Regions from separate parts of the Homo sapiens genome. Here region 2 is linked to region 1. Evidence: promoter capture Hi-C in 16 types of primary human blood cells and fetal thymus (Javierre and others, 2016). All regions are on one chromosome and are shown on one strand. Each heading gives the region's core, a stretch centred on a gene start or on the middle of the fragment in contact. The rest is flanking DNA. Distances are from core to core; before and after follow the strand shown. Region 1 holds the start of MTCL2 (microtubule crosslinking factor 2). Region 2 overlaps DSN1 (DSN1 component of MIS12 kinetochore complex).

Region 1 (3,674 bases), core at 447-2,946:
GGGGAAAGAGGAGGAAAAGGAAGACTTGGAAAAGGAGGGGGGAAAGGAAGGGGAAAGATGGGAGAAGAAGGAGGAAGAAAGAGCAGGGGATAAATGGGAGGGGGAGGAGAGAACAGGAGGAGAAAGAGGTTGTAAAGGGGCAAAAACAGCCCTGCCCTTCTGGTGGCAAGGGGTGTGGGGCACCCTAAGGACGAGGGTACATCTGTGGGGCAAAGCACTCAATCCAGCTCTGCCCTGCGGTGGCTCAGGGATGGGGGCGTAGCGGCCAGGCGGTGTGGGGGCTGGGGAAGGTGTGAGAGACATGGGAAAATCAACACGGCCAGGAGCCAAGGAGACGCCCAGACGCCCGGGAGGAAAGAAAACACGCCCATCAGAGCTCAAGTCCTCCTGCACTGCTCCTGGTGGGGACGTGTGGGGTCAGGGCAACCGTCCCAGCCCATGCCAGCCCCCACGGGGGCCAAAACCGCCTTCCAAAGCATCCGCTAGGCTGACATCTCGTAATAGGTCCCCTCCATTTTATTTTTGTTTTTATTTATTTGTTTATTTTTTTGAGATGGAGTCTAGCTCTGCCACCCAGACTGGAGTGCAGTGGCGCGACCTCGGCTCACTGCAACCTCCGCCTCCCGGGTTCAAGCGATTCTCCTGCCTCAGCCTCCCGAGTAGCTGGGATTACAGGCACGCGCTACCACGCCCGGCTAATTTGTGTATTTTTAGTAGAGACGGGGTTTCATCATGTTGGTCAGGCTGGTCTCGAACTCCTGACCTCGTGATCCACCCGCCTCGGCCTCCCAAAGTGCTGGGATTACAGGCATGAGCCACCGCGCCTAGCTACGGGTCGCTTCCATTTTAGCCGTACAGAGCCTGAAACCCGGGTCGGGGGCGCATGGGGAGAAATATCCGCCGGTCAAGGTGCGCGAGCCAGGCATGCACACAGGGCTTCACGGTCCCTATGCCAGGAGAGGGAAGCCGAGGCAGGGGGAGCCCGAGCGCGCCCGGGAGGTGTGAGCTTTGGGTCCCATCGGCGCCGCCTAGACCGTGAGCTTGGCGCGTGCACCCCAGGCTTCAGTTTACGCATCTGTGCGATGGGATCGCGGCTCCGGCGATGCCGGCTAAGGGGGCGGAGTTCGCGCACGCTCGGCACGGGGCGAGGGGCGAGGCGCTGGGCGTGCATGGATGCGGGTTCCTGCGAACTGAGGTCCGCCCGGCCTCGGCCCGGGAGTCCCGGCTCCCGCCGCTCTCGCAGGCCCTGCCCGGACGCCGGGCGCAGGGGCGCCTCCGCCGGGTGCCTTCCCCGAGCGGGCAGGGGAGGAGGCGGCGGAGCGGAGGAGGAGGGAGCCCGGGCCGCGGCTGCCCGCGCCAGCCTGACCCTCGAAGGGGTCGCTGTTGCCTCGCAGATCCCTCCCTCGCTCCCTGCCTGCGTCCCTCCCTGCCGCTCCCGCCGCGTCCGCCTTTTGTTCGCGGAACCGCGCGCCCCCGAGCCGAGGCGGCGGGGCGGGGAGCTGGCGGGGCTGCGCGGGGGGCGGGCTGCGCCGGGCGGAGCCGGGGCCCGGGCCGCAGCCGGACTCGGAGCCCGAGGGAGCGATCGGCGTGCGGGCGGCGGGGGCCCGGGCGCGCTCCGGGGGCGCGGCGAGGCCGAGGGGGCGGGCGCCGGGCGGAGCCGCAGCCGGAGCCGGGGCGCCTGGAGGCGGTCGGGCCGCACTCTCCGAGCCCAGAGCAGCGGAGAGACCGCGCGGCGGGGCTTGGGACGGGGACGCGGTGTCGGGGCCGAGGTGGGCCGAGAGCAGCCGCAGCCCCAGCGGCCGGAGCCGCGCCGGGTCCCTCCCCAGGGACGTCGAGGCCGGGCGGGCCTGGGCCATGCGCGCAGCTCGCTGAGGCCGAGGGAGGCCGCGATGGAGGCGCCGGCGGCCGAGCCCCCGGTCCGGGGCTGCGGTCCCCAGCCCGCGCCTGCACCCGCGCCTGCCCCGGAGAGGAAAAAGAGCCACCGCGCGCCGTCGCCGGCCCGGCCCAAAGACGTGGCCGGCTGGTCGCTGGCTAAGGGCCGCCGCGGCCCAGGCCCGGGCTCAGCAGTCGCCTGCAGCGCCGCGTTCTCCTCACGGCCGGACAAGAAGGGGCGCGCAGTGGCTCCCGGGGCGCGCGGTGCGGGTGTGCGGGTGGCCGGGGTCCGCACCGGGGTCCGTGCCAAGGGCCGTCCGCGCTCGGGTGCGGGGCCGCGACCGCCACCGCCGCCCCCCAGCCTCACGGATAGCAGCTCGGAGGTGTCGGACTGCGCGTCGGAGGAGGCGCGCCTGCTGGGCCTGGAGCTGGCGCTGAGCAGCGACGCCGAGTCCGCGGCCGGGGGCCCGGCGGGGGTCCGTACGGGGCAGCCGGCCCAGCCCGCGCCCTCCGCGCAGCAGCCCCCGCGGCCGCCCGCCTCCCCGGACGAGCCGTCGGTGGCCGCGTCGTCGGTGGGCAGCAGCCGCTTGCCGCTCAGCGCCTCGCTTGCCTTCTCCGACCTCACCGAGGAGATGCTGGACTGCGGGCCCAGCGGCTTGGTGCGGGAGCTGGAGGAGCTGCGCTCGGAGAACGACTATCTCAAGGTGGGGGCGCCCGGGTAGAAAGGGAGGTCGCAGGGGTCGCCGGCTGTCACAGTCCCGCGGGCCTGAGGCACCAGCCGGCCCTCCTTCCCACTGAACAATCCGGAGAAAGGGGCCCAAGCCCTCTGGGGACCACTCTGAGGTGGATCTGGGGCTCCCTCATTCCCCCCGCCCCCTCTCAACTTTATTTGGGAAGCGCGCTCCTGAAAAAGACCTTGGAACTGGCTACAGGGCCCTAACCTGGGAGCGGGGACTTGAGAAAGCTTTGGAGCGTTCTGGGAGGCGTTGCTGAGGTGGGGGTGGGTAGCCAGGGAAGGGATGGATCTCTGCCTTCAGCTGCCCAGAACCTCCACGCCCAGGCTCTCCTTCTTGGGACGGGATTGATAGACACCGCCGCCAGGGAAACCTGTGGCCATCCCCTGCCCAGGAAAGGCCTGAATGCCATCCTGAGTCGTTACCCAGGGCTTTCCCGGGCGCAGGCCTGTCTCTGCCTGCCTTTCTGGGCGGGTCCAGTTTGAAAGCATGACATCTGGGAACATCCCCTTGGCTGGAGTCCACTTCCGCCCAGCCTAACGGTCCCACAGCCTGGAGGATGATGTCGTGGGAGAACCGGTTCAGAGGCAGCTTCCTAAATCCCAGGACAGTGTCTTTTGCCCTCCCTGGGGCAGACCTTGTGCACACAACAGCCCCATTGGCCCCTCGTGGCCAGTGCCTTTCCATGTTCGCAGTGAGAGGAGGGCAACTGCCCACCTGGAACAGGACTTCCCTGTGGCCATGTGGGGACCCTAGGGCTTCCCCCGGACAGCAGGCTTTGCCTTTGCTTTTTCAGTGGACATGAGCACCTACTGGGTGCCAGCCGGGCTCCATCTGCACGCTTCCAGGTGCCATGGCAGCTTTAGGGACAGCCCAGCTTGCACGTGTTGACCTCTCCCTGGGAGGCTGGAAGCTTCCTGAGCTCTCCTGCCGCTGGCTGGGCACGGTTTTGGAGGAGGCTGAAATGTTGCCGACTCTTGTCAGTGGATGATGGCCTGGCACAACACCCAGAGTGCCCCTGGCTGTGGAGCTCACAGCATGCTGCTGGTTTATGTCTGCCCTCAGCAC
Region 2 (3,891 bases), core at 80-2,579, 110 kb after region 1:
CAGTTACTTTATTCACCCCTTACATACTGTATTTATGAAGATAGATAATGTGTAAGATGCTAGTTTCAGATAAAATCTTTTGTGGCAAAGCTTGTAGGTTAAGAGGAATGGTTCTGGAAGCAGACTGTCTGTTCAGACTCTAACTGTTCCTTAGTTTTGTGACCTTGGGCAAGTCACTTAGTCTTGAATGAGCCTGAGGTTCCTCATTTGAAAATGGGGATGATATTAGTACCTTCCTCATTGGGTTATTGTGTCAAATTAGGTTAAATGTAAAGTGCCCAGTAATATCTGGCATATACTTAGCACTCAGTAAATTGTAGTAGTTGTTGTTATTAAAGTTGTTGTTCATCAGTTTTCATGAACTCTCAGTCCTGTTCAGTTATTTTAGATAATTGAAGTAGGCCAGCATGTTTTGGTAAACAATTATAGACACTGACTTTAGGATAGTAAGCTTTGGCTTCACTCTCTCCCAAGTATAGTCCTTCTGGTATATGGACCTTACTATTAAGTGGATTCAACTGACTGGAAGCTTCCAGCATTTCCTGGAGTCCGGAGGTATAAAGACATGAATACTAGACAATTGTTTCAGAACTTCTTGTTAAGGCCAGGCGCGGTGGCTCACGCCTGTAATTCCAGCACTTTGGGAGGCCGAAGCGGGCAGATCACAAGTTCAGGAGTTCGAGACCAGCCTGGCCAACATGGTGAAACCTCGTCTCTACTAAAAATACAAAAAATTAGCTGGGCATGGTGGCAGGTGCCTGAAATCCCAGCTACTCAGGAGGCTGAGGCAGGAAAATTGCTTGAACCCGGGAGGCAGAGGTTGCAGTGAGCCGAGACCTGAGACCGCACCACTGCACTCCATCCTGGGCAACAGAGTGAGACTCCATCTCAAAAACAAACAAACAAACAAAAAAAAACCTTTCTGTTAAGAAGTGAGCCTATAGCTAGCGTAGAGTGGAGGAATACTGATTCAGCTTTATAGGATAATCTTTGGTATCTCTTCCAGAAAATAATTACAGAATCTCTCAAAAGCTCTTGTGTTTTGTTTTTAGAGGATCAACTGAGGCCAAAATTACTGAGGTCAAAGTGGAACCTATGACATATCTTGGGTCTTCTCAGAATGAAGTTCTTAATACAAAACCTGACTACCAGAAAATATTACAGAACCAGAGCAAAGTCTTTGACTGTATGGAGTTGGTGGTAAGTGGGCTCATGTTTATTTAGTTGAGTTATCCAGCTTTGCCACCTTGTAATCCTTGGAAATTAAAAGACCTGGAGAAATGTATAAGTGTAAGTTGAATATGTATATTCAACTCTACCTTAGGAAAACATGGAGAGACAATTAAAAAATAATAAACAAATGAATATATAGTGGTAAATGCTGATGAAGCAGGGTAAGAGAGACAGACAGTATAGGGAGGTTGGTGGGTTGCTATTTTATATAGCAAGGTTATTGAAGGCTCCTCTGAGGTGCCATTTCAACAGACTTGAAGGAAATGAGCCATGAGGACGTTTGAGGGAGTAGTGTTGTGTCAAACCAGGTATTAATAGCAAGCAGATGGCATTTGAAAGGACAATTCAAGGAGAGTTTATTTTCAGAAAGGCTAAATAGAAAGGTATGGGTATTGGAGAACCACAAGGGTTAGTGGAGTAACCTGGGGCTTATAGGCAGTAGAGCTCTTACTCCTCCTAGGACTCAAAGGGAGGAGGGAGTAGCAGTTACTGTGGCATCTAATGGGAGAAAGTCACATGGTTAGCTGAGTTGAGCCAACTCAAGATGACTCGTTCAGCTCCTTCCCACTTAGGCATCCTGTTGGTAGAGGTTACATGGGTCAGCCTCCTGGAGCATAGAGCAGCCTGGAGAAGAATGTGGTGTGACTTTGGAGGAACAAACAGAATTATCTGGCATAAGCATTCCAGGCTGAAAGAACAGCAAGCCCAGAGCTCCTGAGCAAGAGCTTGCTTGTCAGGTTTGAGGAACATCCAAGAAGCCATGGACCTTTACAGCTCACAGCTGTCTTTTTTCTACAGATGGATGAACTGCAAGGATCAGTGAAACAGCTGCAGGCCTTTATGGATGAAAGTACCCAGTGCTTCCAGAAGGTGTCAGTACAGCTCGGTAAGCTTGTCTCTTGAGGGGACCAGAGTTCAGGCTGTTTTCCATGATAGCCTTTGGGATACAAACTGCCCTTCAAAGCCTATGGTCCAAGAGGGTAAGACCTATATGAGGTGATTTGTTTTTCTCCCCACAATAAATAGTATGTTATGGGTACTCAGAGTTGATAGGAAATTTCTAGATGTAAATTCTACAGAAGCACAGTAGACTGAGAATTAAATCCCCATGAAATATGTTGTTGTTTTGGTAAATCCAAGACTTAAGAAATACCCACCCATTGCTTTTTCCCTCTTCATTTCTCAAGAATTCACTAAGTGACACTGACATTACTCCTCCCTAGCTTTTCCTGACCTCCTTCCAGCCCTAAATTATTGGCTATACATACCTTCATTTTCTTTCTTCTTCTACTTTTTTTTTGGGCTGGGGGGGCAAAGTCTCTCGCTTTGTCATCCAGGTTGGAGTGAATGGCACAATGACTGCACAGCTCACTGCAGCCTCAACCTGATAGGCTCAAGCAGTCCTTTCACCTCAGGCTCCCAGAGTAGCTGGGACTAAAAGCATGCACCACCACCACCACACCCAGCTAAATTTTTAATTTTTTTGTAGAGATGGGGTCCCCCTGTTTGTCCAGGCTGGTCTTCAACTCCTGGGCTCAAGTGATCATCCTGCCTCAGCCTCCCAAAGTGCTGGGATTACAAGTGTGAGCCACTGCACCTGACCATCTTGTTTTTTTGGGTTTTTTTGTTTGTTTTTTTTTTTGAGACGGAGTTTCACTCTTGTTGCCCAGGCTAGAGTGCAATGGTGCGATCTCGGCTCACTGCAACCTCTGCTTCCCGGGTTCAAGGGATTCTTCTGCCTCAGCCTCCCGAGTAGCTGGGATTACAGGCATGCTCCACCATGCCCGGCTAATTTTATATTTTTAGTAGAGACGGGGTTTCTCCATGTTGGTCAGGCTGGTCTCGAACTCCTGACTTCAGGTGATCCACCTGCCTTGGCCTCCCAAAGTGCTGGGATTACAGGCATGAGCCACTGCTCCCAGCCTCCATCTTCTTATTGATCACATTGTATTGTGATTGTAGTGGTGGCTGGCTTTCTTTCTTTCTTTCTTTTTCTTTTTTTTTTTTTTTTTTGAGACAGTCTCGCTCTGTTGCCCAGGCTAGAGTGCAGTGGCATGATCTTGGCTCACTGCAACCTCTGCCTCTGGAGTTCAAGATATTCTCCCACCTCAGCTGCCTGAGTAGCTGGGATTACAGGCATGTGCCACCATGCCTGGCTAATTTTTGTATTTTTAGTAGAGATGGGGTTTCACCATGTTGGTCAGGCTGGTCTTGAACTTCTGACCGCAAGTGATCTGCCCATGTTGGCTTTCCAAAGTGTTGGGATTACAGGGATTACAGGCATGAGCCACCCTTTTTTTTTTTTTTTTTAGACAGGGTCTTGCTCTGTTGCCCAGGGTGGAATACAGGGGCGCAGTCATGACTCATTGCAGCCTCAACTTTCTGGGCTCCCAGGTGATCCTCTTGCCTCCCATGTAGTTGGAGGATCGTGCTAGGACCATGCTAGGCTAATTGTTTTTTTTTTTTTTGTAGAGACAAGGTCTTACTGTGTTGCCCAGGCTAGTCTCAAACTCCTGGGCTCAAGGAATCGTCCCGCCTTGGTCTCCCAAAGTGCTGGGATTACAGGCGTGAGCCACCATGCCCAGCTGTGGCTGGCATTCTTACCAAATTGTCATCTCCTTGAGGCCAGAGACTCTCTTATTTGTCTTTGTAATGCCC

Evidence for each region. Contacts are between HindIII fragments. The CHiCAGO score rates a contact against its expected background, and 5 or more counts as called.
Region 2: a contact is called between a fragment that was not itself captured here and the fragment with the promoter of MTCL2 in region 1, in 1 of 17 cell types (M2 macrophages). The highest score is 5.5, in M2 macrophages.

The regions. Positions count from the first base shown.
Region 1 is chr20:36,861,560-36,865,233 of GRCh38, reverse strand. It overlaps MTCL2 (microtubule crosslinking factor 2), which reads left to right and starts at 1,696. Exons shown (of 15, transcript NM_080627.4): 1 at 1,696-2,576. The coding sequence starts at 1,890. RefSeq lists silencers at 987-1,876, 1,947-2,096. The HindIII fragment of the contact is 4,947 bases long and covers 1-2,838 here.
Region 2 is chr20:36,752,991-36,756,881 of GRCh38, reverse strand. It overlaps DSN1 (DSN1 component of MIS12 kinetochore complex), which reads left to right. Exons shown (of 11, transcript NM_001145315.2): 9 at 1,053-1,200; 10 at 2,032-2,119. Among named protein-coding and RNA genes, the nearest start is that of NDRG3, 8.8 kb to the right of the region's middle. The HindIII fragment of the contact is 1,595 bases long and covers 532-2,126 here.